2 separate regions of the Homo sapiens genome follow, and region 2 is linked to region 1. Evidence: promoter capture Hi-C in 16 types of primary human blood cells and fetal thymus (Javierre and others, 2016). All regions are on one chromosome and are shown on one strand. The core of a region is centred on a gene start or on the middle of the fragment in contact, and the rest is flanking DNA. Distances in the headings are between cores, read along the strand shown. Region 1 holds the start of BCL9 (BCL9 transcription coactivator). Region 2 has its middle 5.6 kb from the start of S100A11.

Evidence for each region. The method cuts DNA at HindIII sites, captures the fragments that hold promoters and counts their contacts. A CHiCAGO score of 5 or more calls a contact.
Region 2: a fragment that was not itself captured here is called in contact with the fragment with the promoter of BCL9 in region 1 in 1 of 17 cell types (fetal thymus); the score reaches 5.2 in fetal thymus.

Annotation. Positions count from the first base shown.
Region 1 is chr1:147,538,350-147,545,527 of GRCh38, forward strand. It overlaps BCL9 (BCL9 transcription coactivator), which reads left to right and starts at 3,152. Exons shown (of 10, transcript NM_004326.4): 1 at 3,152-3,325. RefSeq lists enhancers at 2,810-3,104, 2,823-3,577, 3,138-3,197, 6,741-7,178. The HindIII fragment of the contact is 5,169 bases long and covers 3,061-7,178 here.
Region 2 is chr1:152,039,040-152,046,217 of GRCh38, forward strand. No RefSeq gene overlaps it. Among named protein-coding and RNA genes, the nearest start is that of S100A11, 5.6 kb to the left of the region's middle. The HindIII fragment of the contact is 6,236 bases long and covers 544-6,779 here.

The sequences.
Region 1 (7,178 bases), core at 1,902-4,401:
TCACAGTTCTTCTGCCTAAGAATCTAGGACATTTTCATCTATACTCCATGCTTAGCTTTCATAAGTCTTGTAAAATAAACTTAGAAATGCTCATGCATTGACCTTGTTCACTTATCCACTTGGAATTTCTTTTTTCTCTTTGGAGTTGGCAGGTGGAAGCCATCAGTGCTGGAGGCAAGATAGTCTGACCTGGTGTTCTTACCAACATGTTCTGGCCTGGAGGCCTGGCATTCTCTGTCCTCTGCCAAGTGGAGGAATTGGAAAATTAAAGGTTGTTTGGGGGCCTGGGCACATGCTTTCTTTTTCTTTAACTACTTATAGGAGATATCATGAGATTTAAAAATGCATGTGAAAGTGTTAGGATCATGATTGCCTCTTTCTTCTTTCTCTCATTGAGCATTTGTATTTTCACTCTAACAATTGGAACAAGTCTTTTTGCTGCCTTAGCAGTACAGCATAGTGGTGGGGATCCTGGTCTCTAGAAAGGCAGACCACCTGGGGCCATATCTCAGCCACTACTTCCTGGCTGGATTACCTTAACACGCTCCTTCACTTCTGTGCCTCAGCTCCTTCATCTAGAAAATAGACACACTGATAGTTTACACTGTATGGGGTTGTTTAATATATGGAAATTCTTAATAAATGTTAGTTGCTGTCATCACCATTATCATCAATATCTATGGGCCTTTTTAGTTTGCTTTTTTATTTAAAAAAATTTTTTATACTTAAGAAAGGGAAGCTTTTCTGGTCTTAGCTGCCTTTCTCTATTGCCTAGCAATCTGAAAATAGTGCAGTCATTGAAGGTTAAGTCGACCCTTTATGCAATTCTTGCCTGGGAGGCCTCATTGTGTATAGTGAGTCACCACCACTTAGAAGTGGACAGTGAGTCAGTAGCCTATTAAGGGGAGGTCAGAAGTTCCCCTGGCTCAAAATGAAAGGATCCAAACCCAACCCTGGGGTACAGAAAAAACAGTGTACTTATATGGCTGACTGGACTTGAAGTGCCATGGAGTACCTGGACTACTCCAGTGAGAAGGCATAATATGGCGGGTAAACGCTGGGGCTTTAGAATCACACAGGCCTCAGTTGGATTTCAGCTCTACCTCTGCCTTGCTGTGTGACCTCAGACAAGTTGCTTAACCTCTCTGTGCCTCGTTTTTCTATCATCTGTAAATGGAAATGATCATAACAAAAATTACTTCATGATACAAATGAGTGGGAAAATGCTAAGAATCAAGTAAATACTTAAAAAAAGGTTATTATTATTATTATTATATTACCACATCATCATCATTAATGGGAGTCGGGACAGACAGTTCAGGGATCAGGGATAATGGAGGAGCAAATTAAGGGGGAAAATAACAGGAACAAGTCTGTGTCTTTGATGTGGTGAGTTTTAGGTAGTGACACCTCATTTAGCTGGTGTTAAGTATGAAAGAAGTCATAATTTATTCTTTACTGCATACCTATGAAGGAATGAGTGATGTGTGTTCTCATAATTTCCATTTTGTAAAGGAAGATTCTGAGGAATAGAGTCTAAACAATCTTCATGAAAAAGTACAGAACTGATTCAGCAGCAGTTAGGAGCTAAGCTTCCATTCAGATCCTGTTGCATAGGGATAACTCTTCTGGCCTAGGCAGAGGAGACCTTGTTAGGTCTGTGAGTCCACAGTATCTAAAAATATGAATGTCATATAATCATCCTGTCATTCTTCTTCCTGATCTCAATTGGCCCTCCTGATTTCATGCCATCTGCAAATTTGCACATCCTTTGTGCTCCTTTTTGCTCACATTTTATGCCTTCTTTTACCATCTCATTTACTCTGCATGTTTCAATCTTTCTGGGCTTCCATTTTTCTTCTTTTTTTAATGCAGTGTTGTTTCTCTCTCTCTCTCTCTCTCTCTCTCTCTCTCTCCACTCCTTTACAGCCCCCACCTCCTCCCTCCACACCAATCAAATTCCTGCTTGTTTCTTGCCATATTCATTATCCTACCTCATTCCCCTCTTATTCCTAGAAAACAGCACACTCACCCTCCCCTCCTCCAACTCTCAGGCCCACCCTCCATAAATTCCAGCAGCCTGGCAATCAGTAACTTTAGCATCACACTTCACAGCTCTCCTAGTTTACACTACTTGTTACTACTCTCCTTGCTACTGCTCTCTAGGGTTTCTGCTAAAATAAAAAATAAAAAAAAATAAAAAAAGCTTCACTTTAAAAATATCTTGGGTACAAGTTGAACCTACAGTTAAGTTTACTCACACATTTACACATTTCATGATTTTATTTTAACTAGTAGCTCAAGTCCATGCTCAATTATGCAGTGAAAGAAGGCTAGATCCTTAGGAAACAAATTTTTCTCTATTGTAAAGAAGAAAAATCACCTAACCACTCAACAGAAACCCCAGTCCTGGGGCCACTCACCCTCTTATCTCCCTACTCCCCCAATCTCCAGCTAATGGGACTTTGCTTTTTCCTTTGTCGGGTCATTTATTTCACTTTTCCTGGCGCTGAGATGGCCTGAGTCTGTGTATGTGTGCACACGTGTGTGGCCACTGCTTTTCTTCCAAAGGACTCACCTCTCTTCTGCCATTTTACTAGGACACAGGAGGCGGCTCTCTGCTCTCGCTCTCCCTCTCTTTTTCTCCCTGCCCCCAACTCAGCCTGGGCTTTTTCCTGTCTCTTAACTCCACCAGTGCAGCAGCAACTAGCTGAGCTGCTTGAGAGAGAGAGAGAAGAGAGAGAGAGAGAAGAGAGAGAGAGAGAGAGAGGAGAGAGAGAGAGAGAGAGAGAGAGAGAGAGAGAGAGAGAGAGAGAGAGAGAGAGAGAGTGTGTGTGTGTGTGTGTGTGTGTGTGTGTGTGTGTGTGTGTGTGCCTGCGTGCGCAGCTAGGCCAAGCCTGCGAGCCTGCCTGTCACTGGAGAGTTTTAGTTTGCATTCAGAAGAAAGGAGGAGGGGAGACAAGAGGGGAGGAGGAAAAGGTGGAGGGGGGAGGAGTGGGGGGGCGCAGAGAAGGGAGGGAGAATGTCTTGTTTGTGGCTTGTCAGCAATTGCTTGAGACAAGCTTCCATGTGTGAAAGCTACTTGGCATGAATGCCTGGGCCGTACCAAGTGTCACCGCAGCAAGAGGGGGAGTCAGAAGAAAAACAGATCAGACCAGAGCAGACAATAGGCCCCTAAAGTGTTCCCCCTAAGTTGCTTTGATGTTGTCCTGGTGTCTTGATACCAGGAGGCCAGGGATTGCGGGAAAAGGGTCTTTTTTGTCTTCATTCACTTTCCCCCCTCAGTTTCTGAAATGATTCTCCAGAATTTCTCCTCATAAAAAAGGTAAGAGCCCTAACAATTCCTTCTTCGGTGGCAGGCTTGTTCGCCTGTGCCTGGAAGTGGGGGTCTCATTCCTGCGCTGCTCTGGAGGAGCGCTGGGGTCCTGCGATTGGAGCTCCTGCGTTGCCCCTGGAAGTCTTTCAAGGCATCCAGGACTGGGGATGGCCCCTCTTTCGAGGGAACCCCAGTAACACGATCTGTGCCTCTGGGTTGGTGGGGGAGAAGGGGTGGATGGAGAGGGCTGGGAGGAGGGTGTGAGGGTGGGAGGGAAAAGAGAGAGAGAGAGGGAGCGCGAGAGAGGGAAGCCTGGAAAAGAGGGAGAGAAGGGCAGAGCCTTGGTTCAGGGAAACCCCAGCCCAGAGCCCAGGGAGGCCTTGCAGGCTCCGAGCTGTGCATTCTCAGGCTGAGCAAGGGCCGGCCAGGGCTCCGCCGAGTGACTGCAGAGATTGCATCGAGCTTTGTGTGTGCCAGTGTGCCCGTGGGTCTGTGTGTGCGTGTGGACTTCCCACACACTGCCCTGGCGTGCCTCGCTGTGAAGGGGAGGCACCCCGATCCTTACCACCCCAGCCCAGACTCTCCGAGGAGGAGCGGCATGGCAGGCAAGAAGGGAGAGCAAGAGAACTCTGCCACAAGACGATCCAGAAACTTTTCCAGTCTCAGGGATTCCTCTGGTCGTAGAGACTGTTGAGTTGTGGGGTGCCCCGTGCCTCAATTTCCCCATCTGTAAAATCAAGGTTGCTGATCAGGGATGCTGTATGCCTCCCTGGGATTGAGCGAAACAGAACAGATCACTGTGTCTGAAACGCGTGGAGAAATCGTCAGCTAGAGATGCTGTGGAATCACAGAGTAGAAGTGTTATCATTATTCTTGATCATCATCATCAGGGTAATAAAAACATCATTAAAGACACCCTGAGACAAATAGACTGAGGAGCACAGATCAAGTGTCTGAGCATTTCTAAGGAAACAAAAAGCCTTGTTCCACCTGTTGGCTTCTGTCCTTTTTCTCTTGTGTCTTTTCGTTAGATTTATTGGCCGATTTGTACAGAGAATGGGGTGGGAGGGGTTGGGTTTTCCCCTTTCCTCCTCCTTGTACGTATTTTTGTTTTAAAGAAGGTCAATGTAAGATGCTTGAGCGAGAAAATGTGCCTCCTGGTATAGTAGTTTATTCAAGACCTTGTGTTTTCTGGGGCTGGCAGGGCATGCAGACGCATCTGTAAACTCTACCTTGGAGGTTAAAGATTTTTATTGTGGCTTTTAGAGATTAAATGAGATTTATTTACAATTGCTGTTTATCAGAGAGTAAATATCTTACTGTGTGTGTACGAGGCTAAGAATGTGAAGGCTGTTTACTCGCCGGTGGTTTTGTGGATAAAACCTTTTGCTTTTTCAAGTGACATCTTGAGGGATGGAACAGAGGGCTAAAATCAGTGCCTAACATTCATCTTAACAATTTTTTTTGAGGAAAAAAAATGTCTGCTTATTTTCTTGAATTGTGGATTTCCTTTCTTCTGTTCCTACACATTGATTGTTTAAAGGCTCTCAGTTGTAGCTCTCTCTGAATTCTCTGGAGGAGTTCTGCTTTCTTACCTAATTCTAGGTTTTCTGTGACTCTGCTACTTGTCCAAAAAAATCTGTAAAAGTCTAGGAGGCTGTGCCTCCTTCCATTCTAACTGCAAATGTTTATCAGACTGACTCCCTGTGATAGCTGGAGATTGAAGCAAAGGGCCAGCCCTGGCTGAGAATATTTATGTGCTTTTCACAGAGGCCTGGAAACCTGACTTCTGAGTATGGGAAAAGCTGAAGGAAAGCCATTAGTTGGCCTGGATCTGGCAAGAAGGTCCCCCTACATTTAAGGTTTTATTAAAATAAAGCTGTATTTTATGCATATATATATCTGAAAACTTAGTTGTTTTCTACTTTATAGTCAGAGATCTTACCATGGTTGTTCCTGACAAGATTTCAGGGTCCAGATATCTTCCTAAAATGTTAGAATTTAAGAACTGCAAGGAAAAAGAAGTGTTATTCCATCATGTTATAGATGAGGATGTTAAGGTCCAAGAGAGATAAGCACTGATCTGAGGCGGGTGCAACAAAGCTGTGGTAACATCTAGACCACACCCTGGGGTTCAGAGTACCCCAAGGGTCTTCATGCCGGGTACCCTTACCTCACACCCACATTTGATTTTACAAACTCCAGCACTTGGCCAACCAAAGAGAGGCACCTTTTGTAGTTCTGCTTGCTGTGCTGGATTACAGCAGCACACTCTGCCCTGCTCATGTCATCAAATGGTACAAATATGCAAACATGGGTCCACAACATGAATTTGCATAAATTCATTCATGTATTCATTTGTTCATTCAACTTATATTTTGGGGCTCTTTACTCTGCAGCAGGCAAATACTGGGCACTGAGGATATAGGAAGAGAAAGGCAGATATACCCCTGCCCTCAGGGAACTTACAGTCTTGTTGGTATGATCAACATTAACCACATGGTCACACAAACCAGTAATCATAATATTGATGATACTTGTTGAATAGCATGCAAGTATTATGACGGAGTGCATAGAGTTGCATAAGTTATTGACTCAAAGTGTGTAACTAGACATAAGCTAACTGTTCTCTTTCTCTGTGTGGCTGAGTTCCCCTTGCCCCAGCCAACCTCCATTCCACTGGTGCCATTCCTATTCACAGGGAGCCCAGCAATTCCAAAGAGCAGAAAATTCTCCTTCCCTCTCTCACCATCCTTCACTCTCTCTCTTTTTCTTAGCACACAGACCAACAAATAATATCTGCTAATCCCCTACACTTGTGCCATGAAGTAACTTCACTCTTGTAGTGAGCAGCCTAACATTGTTACCTGGATAATTCATGTTGACCGTGGTTAGTGAGACTCTGATCTCGTTTTACTGATTCCATCGTTCTTCCAGGGCTGGTACTAAACACTCAGCTGCAAGAGACTCCACCATTATCACTGTCATCTTGGAATTCCAAAGACAATATAATAAAATGACCTTTCCTACCCCTCCCAGCAAGGACACATATCCTACCCCTCCCAGTGAGGACTCATAAAGGGAAAAAAAAATTAAATACCTTTTTAGCAGATCTCTGGTTGTGCTATTAAAATCTGACTGGTTTAGTGATATCAAAGATAGAATGTTTTTTCTCTCTCTCTCTCTCTTCCTCCTATTTGTGGCCTTTCTTGGAAAGAATATAGTGTCTGGTTGAAATGCCAGTCATTTCCACGGAGGCAGATTTGTGTTAATGTTGGCATCACCATTTTCTACATCGTGTCTTTCTCTAGTACTCAGTGGAGTGTTGTCTTCAGTGTTGTCAATCCATCTTTTTTTTTAAGATTAATTTAATAGTTTTTTTAGAAGACAGACATGCCCACCCACACATAAATCATAGGTTCGATGCCTATACTTTGGGAACCCACACATAATGTGTGGTTAAGTCGTGTCATGAGAAAAATAAGAGTCATTTCTACATACCCAGCATTGTTACACAGGGATGTGCCCAGCCCACATTGTAGCAACAACCTAAACCGGAGCTTGCCAGCTTGCTGTGGTCTGCATTTGGCACCTGTGGCCAACGCCTCCTCCTCTGAGCGGTATGCACTTCATTTGCAAGTCTTTGATCACTTCCGACATACTCTCCCCCACCCCAAGTGTGTTACTCACCGGGGAGCTGCCTCTTGGGGAGGCAGTCTGAGTTGGCATTGGAAGAGTAATCTAAGAAGAGGAGTAATCCAAGTGGGGAGTTGAGGAGTGAGTAAAACGAGGATCTGGTCAGAGGAAAGATTTAACAGAACTGGAGAGCCAGACAGCAGTGATAACAGGTCATCTTTAACTC
Region 2 (7,178 bases), core at 2,412-4,911, 4.5 Mb after region 1:
TCATGAGGCCTTACACACCACAGTTCTTTTCTTTTTTTTCTTTTTTGAGACGTTGTTTCACTCTTGTTGCCTAGGCGGCTGGAGTGCAACGGGGTGATCTCAGCTCACTGCAACCTCCGCCTCCCGGGTTAAAGCGATTCTCCTGCCTCAGCCTCCTGAGTAGCTGGAATTACAGGTGTGCGCCACCACACCCTGCTAATTTTTTGTGTATTTTTAGTAGAGACGGGGTTTCACCATGTTGGTTATGCTGGTCTGGAACTCCTGACCTCGTGATCTGCCCTCCTCAGCCTCCCAAAGTGCTGGGATTACAGGTGAGAGCCACTGCGCCCGGCCACTATAGTTCTTTTTAAGAGAAAATGCCTCACTTAGAACCTGTGCTCAAGGGGCAGCCCAGGTGGCCAAGTTTTGCATGATTTGACACACTGTGACCCTGTTAGAGTGGACTGGGTTGAAGTTAGTCTGGACACCAGCACTGCCAATCTATAGGATGGCTGGTAGTGGATGTTTCATGACATAACATGGAAAGATGAACTAGGGCCAAAAAGCTTCTTGTTTTTGGGAAACTGAAATTAGAAGCACATAGAAAATTAGGCATTTAGAAGAGCTGAAGCTGAACATTTGCATAGACAGAACCATGAAGTCATGGCAAATAAAACTTATGGAGAAGACATCATGAGTAAGTGGAAGCTATGAAATTTGGAAGAAATAGACAGAGGGGAATGTAAGCCAATTGCTAACTGTAAATTAAAGAAAAGGCTACTTGGGTGTTCGCTGAATTGTGAAAATGGTGAACCACTGGGAGTGAAGAGCCTGCAGTCTGACTTCATTAGCGTTTTTGTTCTTCCTAAACCTAGTTGTTAGTTTTTCTTACTTTCTCTATGACATTTATTCTTTCAATAACTCTTCAGCCCCATGAAGTAGCTTGAATGAAACCAAAGGAAAAAGCTAAACCAAATAAGTATGACTTGTTCAGAGCCAGGTTGGGGGATCAGCCCCACCCAGTTAGGGCTGCCTGCTTGACAGCTGCTCCCCAGGGTCACGCTGAAAGGGGTTCATTTCTAGGTTATCAGTCAAAGGAGGGAGAGTTCAGGAAAGGTAGCAGGCAAGGTAGATTTGTCAAAGCAGGCAAACAATGAATCAAACTGAAGGGCTGGAGCCAGCAAGGAGCTGAGGATGAGTGAGAGCTGGTAAACTGACAGCAAGAGACAAAAATAATATACAGATGGGTAAAAGGGCTTATCAGGAAATAAATGTAGGAACTTCCATGGCTCAAGGTAATTCTTATGTGCAGTCTGATCTCTGTGTAGCATTGGGTTGATTCTGAAATGGACACAGTACAGTGACAAATGCAATAACAGGGGTGTGACCAAGACACAATGACAAATGCCAGGAAAGAAATGAGAGGTTAACTCTGGGAGAGGAGGGAAAGTATCCTGGAAAAGTGCTGCTTGAGGTGGGTATTGAAATATAAATAAGAATTCACCAGGTGGATGAACATGGTAGTGAAAAAAGGTGAACTCAGGCAAGATAGCACAGTATTTACAGCCACAGGCTCTGCCACAAGACTGGGGTTCAAATCCCAGTGTCACAACGTATTAGCTATATGAAATCTAGCAAGTTATTTGTTGGCTCTGTGTCTCAGTTTCCTCATCTGTAAAGTGGAGAGAATAGTAGTTGTTGTGAGGATTAAGAGTTAATTCATGTTTAATGCTTAGGACTTACAGCAGTGTCTTCAGAGGAAGTTTTACATAGTGGCTTGTGCAGAATTAAGGTTCGGGATGAAACATTGTTCGTGTTCTCAGTACTTGCAGGTGGTTCAGTAGAACCAGACTTAGGGTATGGGGTGATGGTAAATGTGAGGCAGAAGCTGTGGGATGTGAGATGGGAGAGACAAGGGTCAGCTCATTAGGAGATATACTTGGAAGTTTGGATTGTAACCTTAGGGTTATGTATCAAGGAACATTGAAGATTTTTAAGCAGGACAGTGACGTGATCCCCTTCACTTTTGGAACTGTAGAAAACATGTTCTAGAAAGAAGAAAGACTAGAGGCAAAGAATATTAGAATATTGTTGCAATAACCAGGGTGAGATGGCCATGGAGATGGGGAGAGGGAATTACCAAATACTGAGAAGGCAAAACCAACCTAACTTCACCACTGTTCAGCTGTGGAGCATTAGAGGAAGGAGGCATCAAGCGTGAATCCTAGGACTCTAGCTTGATAGCCCTGTGGTACCAGTACCATCCCCAAGATAGAGAACATAAACTGAATAACATTTTCGGGGGCTTAAGGGAAGATGATGGTTCGATTCGATATTGATCAAATTGAGTCTGAGGTAAGTGGGACAATTTGATGCTGGAGGAATTAAGCATGTCCAGTATCTATCTTATGTTCTCTCATAGCTCCTTGTATCATAATCCCATCATACTCTACTGTCATTTTATGTTTACTTAATCATCTTCCTCACTGGATTCCAAGATGCTTGAGGGCAGAGATGGTGCACTGTTCACTCCAGTATTTCCAACATTCACTCATTCATTCAGCAGATATATAAGAAGAATCTTCATGTGTGCAGAGCTATCTAAGCATGGAGGCTGTAGTGGTTAACAAGACAGATGAAGTCTCTGTTCAGATGCTGCTCGACCAGCTCAACTTAGGTGAATAAACAATATTTATAGAGCAAGTGGAGGAAGATGATCCAACATAGAAGAAAGAAGAGAGATGATCAGGGAAGCAGGAGGAGGCTTCTCTGGTGTCATCAAAGCTCATGAAGAGAGACTTCCAAGATACAGGGAGTGGTCAACAAGGTGAAAGACTTCAGCGAGGCAGAGTATGGTGGAGGCTGAGATGTGTCCACCTGATTGGCAATCATATCCTTGGATACCTTTGCCAGAGCAGTTTTAGTGTGGTGGTAGGAAGAAACACAGATGGCAGTGGACTGAGGAAGAGAGATGAAGAGTAGAGATGGGGTTATGGATTACTCATTTGATCAAATTGAATATGAAGAAAAGGAGAAAGTGGCAGCCAGAGGGGATCTAGGATTAAGGGTATATTTAAAAATATACAGTTTTACAAGCTGTGGAGAAGGAGTTATCAGAATGAGAAGTCAAAGATTCCAGGTTGAAAGAATGTGAACAATGAAACAAGACCCCAGAGGAGCCGTGGGTGACTGGAATTACTTCAGAGAGGTGGAGAAGGAGAAGAGTGGGAGGGAGGCTGTAGATAGCTTGTAGGTTTGGGCTGTACAGGGTTATCCTTTCCCATGGCCTTTTTGATGCTATGAGGCAGGAAGTAAGGCATCTGTGAGCATAGGCATTGGGTAGGGGGCACAGAGGGCATAGGCATTGGGTAGGGGACTTGAGGAGGTCCTGTGGTCTCAGAGGAAATGGAAAGAGGAGCTGAACCAGAATGGCTGAGTGGTGTGAAAGTTTAGGGACCTATCATTTTGTGGTGACTTCAATCCACATGGTTGTGTGATTGTGTGGCTGTATGGCTTCTTCCAGGTGTGCTTCGAAGTTTAGTCATCAGATCCAAGAGAACGGGCTGTGGAATGAATTTAGGGTTAGGTGTGTGTGTATGGGTGTAAACAAAGGATAAAGGGGTGAAGGAGTTGAGGGCATGGGTGAGAAAGGAATTCACTTGATTGGCACTGCATGCTGGACAAAGAAGGAAGGAGCAAGGACACAGAAGGTGGATGGTGGGAAGGCTCCACAAAATCAAGGAGCAAGGTAAGTGGAAAAGAGGGATGGAGAGAGCTGGCATGTAAGAAGTTATTGGTATAGTCTAATTTTTCAGTGAGTTTAACATGTTGTAGGCAGAGCCTTTATAAATGATGACAAAATCTAAGCATGATGAGTGCTAAACTGATTCCAGTTTAAGTGGAGTGGACATGAAGGAGGTTAACAAGCTGTGAGGGGCTGGGTGCGCTGGCTCATGCCTGTAATCCCTGCACTTTGGGAGGCCGAGGTGGACAGATCGCTTGAGCCCAGTAGTTCAAGACCAGTCTGGGCAACGTGGCGAGACCTCTTCTCTACAAAAATTAAAAAAATTAGTCAGATGTGGTGGAGTGTGCCTGCAGTCCCAGCTCCTCAGGAGGCTGAGGTGGGAGGATTACTTGAGCAGTGGAGGTCGAGGCTGCAGAGAGCTTTGATTGTGCCACTGTACCCGGGCAACAGAGGGAAACCCTGTCTGGAAAAACAAAACAAAATAAAAACTTATGACTTAATATTAAATAACTTGTTGCTTCAAGAATTGTTTGGCTCTTTGTATTGTTTTTCTTTTTCTGGACAGAGGGGGAATCTCAAGATATTTCCAAGGGTATTATATGCATATTCACTTATATATTCATTTTTTTTTTGAGACGGAGTCTCGCTCTGTTGCCCAGGCTGGAGTATATATTCATTTTTATTCAACAAGTATTTGTTAAGTACCACATCCTGGTCTGAAGATATGAAGATTTCAAAAAGTCATGATTCTTGCCTTTAAGGATTCCCAGATCTAATTTGATGAACAAAACAGGGATGGGATGGGATCCTTCCAGAAACTGCTTGAGCCCTCTGCACCAGGAGGTGTGCACCTGGTCTCTAGGGTGAGCCTATTTCTATTTAGGTCCTGGGATAGAAGGTTTACCCCTTGGAGAACGGTAAGGGGAGATACTTAGGTTTCTCTTACAACCTACAGCTGCTGCCTGGAGCACTGAGGCCACATTTGTAAGATTAAGAAATAACCCCAGAGTCCCTGAGGCCACACTAGCGTAAATGGAAATGCTGGACAAGGAATCTAAAGGCCTGAGTTTGAGTTCCAGTTTTCTCCCCTAGTAGATAAGCTGTTTTCTAATGGCCTCAGTTTTCTCAGGTGTAAGACGGGGAGAATTAAGGAAATAATGAATATAAAAGGGCTCTTTCAATGGTATAGTGTTATACAAATGTTAATTACTACTCGCAGTATTGCCGTGTGGATTAAAAGAAAGGGTGCCTTGTAAATTGCACTTTGCAAATGTGGAGGGTCATTATTGTTATCCCTTCAAGCGCCTCTCACTTCCTGTTGCCTCTGCTCTAATTCCTGGCCCTCAGCTCTCTCAGGTGTTCTGTGGGATGGCATCTTGGAGCAGCCGAGTCCCTGTGATTGCTGATGGGAGTTAACTGTTTGCTTTCTGCCATTGTCAGCACACATTTACATTTCTCTTCATTTTCTTCTAGACATCTTTCATGCTGATGGTTGGAAGTCATTAAAGTATTCCCTTATAGTTTTTTTAGGTCTTCACTGTAGTTAGGGAGACCTGAGAAATTTTCTCTTTCACAATGACCCACAGCAAATTGTCACATATATGCTAAATTTCTACTCTGAGGAAGCCACACCATGTCAGATCCATGTTCAATCCATTGTGATCTGAATGTGTCATCAAAATATTCTCAGTGGATCTGTATTGCTTAATTTTTTTGTCCAAATTCTTCATCTTGGAATTCAAACTCCTTCGTGGCCTAATTCCAGCTATTTTTTCATTATTTCCTTTCATTCACTGTGAACTCTAGTGAAGTGGAACTTTTCACTGTTTCCTGTAGGCAGGGTTGATTTTTTTAGCCGGTTCTCACTAGTAAGAACTGGTGCCACACGCTGGTTGTTAAAATATTGAAATTCTTCTCTATCACTTGCTAAATAGCCTCTTGCTTAAACCCCTGAGTGCCACCCACCTGAAGCTCCAGCCACTCCAGTCCCTCTCCTGGTCCACCCAATTCCCATAACCAGGTAACATAAGGGTTAATGCATGGCTTGACAGAGGGTCTCTAGGACTTTCTTCAGCCTTGCAGACTGGTAACTGTTCTAATTGGCCAGTGCTGGGTCACATTTTGAATATCTTCCAGCCTTTAGGAATCTCACAGTTTCCCATATATTGGTTTTTGTTCTTGTGATTCCTTCCTTCCATCTGGAATGTTCTCCCCATCTTCTTATATCCAAATTCTAGCTCTATGAAGACTCAACTCAAAAAGCATCTTCTCGTGGGGCTTTCAGTCATCTCTTCCAACTAAAAACATCTGTCTCTTCATTGATATCCTTCATTGATACATAGCACTGTATCTGTACTTTTCTTTTGATGTGTAATACAGTGAATCTTGAATTATAGCCTTTTTTTTTTTTTCTGTTAGGCTGTCAGCTCATTAACGACAGGCTCCAGCATCTCCATCCTACCTTTTGTTAGTGGCACCACCCACCTTCTAGAGGGCATTTAACGACCTTCTTCTTATTCATACTTTGGGTGTAGGGCAAGGACATGATGGGTTAGTACCAGGCATGAGGACTTTCATGTGACAAATGAAGAATTCAAAGGTTCTTGTGGTCTTTTTAGATGGTTTATCATTTTTGTGCGATAAGACTTCCTCTAGTTTCACCTTTCCCTGGCTCCCATACCTCACCTCCTGCTCTTGGAAGGCCTGAGGATGGGCAGGTTAGCTCAGCAATGTTAAGAATGTTAGGAAGAAACTGGGTAAGTTAAGGAGATTTTGGATGAAAGGGATAGAAACTTGACTCAAATAGGGTTCAGTATTCATAAAATTATTATTTATTTTCTCCATAAAAGTAGGTCCCAGGACAGAGCAGTCTCCAGGGCTGATTGATTCAGCATCTTAGTGATGTCATCAGGGACAAGGCTCTTCAGTCTTTTTATCCCGTGATCCACATTTCCCTTGTAATCATAGGATGGCCACCAGAAGCAGGTGGCACATAAGGAGCATGTATTTCCTTGTTCAAGTGGGAGAAACTTCTTTTTCTCAAAAACCCTGAGCAAGCTTCTCTTGAGTCTCACTGCCCAAAACTGTTCAGTCCTGCCTAGCCCTGAACCAATTGTTGGCCAAAGGGATGAAATTACCTTAATTAGCTAAGATGAATTGTTTGGGGTGGGAGCTTGGTAGATTGTATTTTCCCCAAATGGGCAAAACAATATCTGCCTCCCACACGCTCTTACAAAGTGACCTTCACACTCTTTCTATCAAAAGGTAGGTTCTATATTTTTCCCCCTTGAACCTAGGTAGGCTTGTGACTGTTTCAGAAATAATGCTACATGATTTCTCAGACTTGATGTTAAAAGGTGAGATGATGTCTCCCTGGTTCTCCCTTGGGACACTCACTCATGGAAGCCATCCACCATGCTGTGAGGAAGCTCAAGTAGAAGAGAATCAAGAGCCA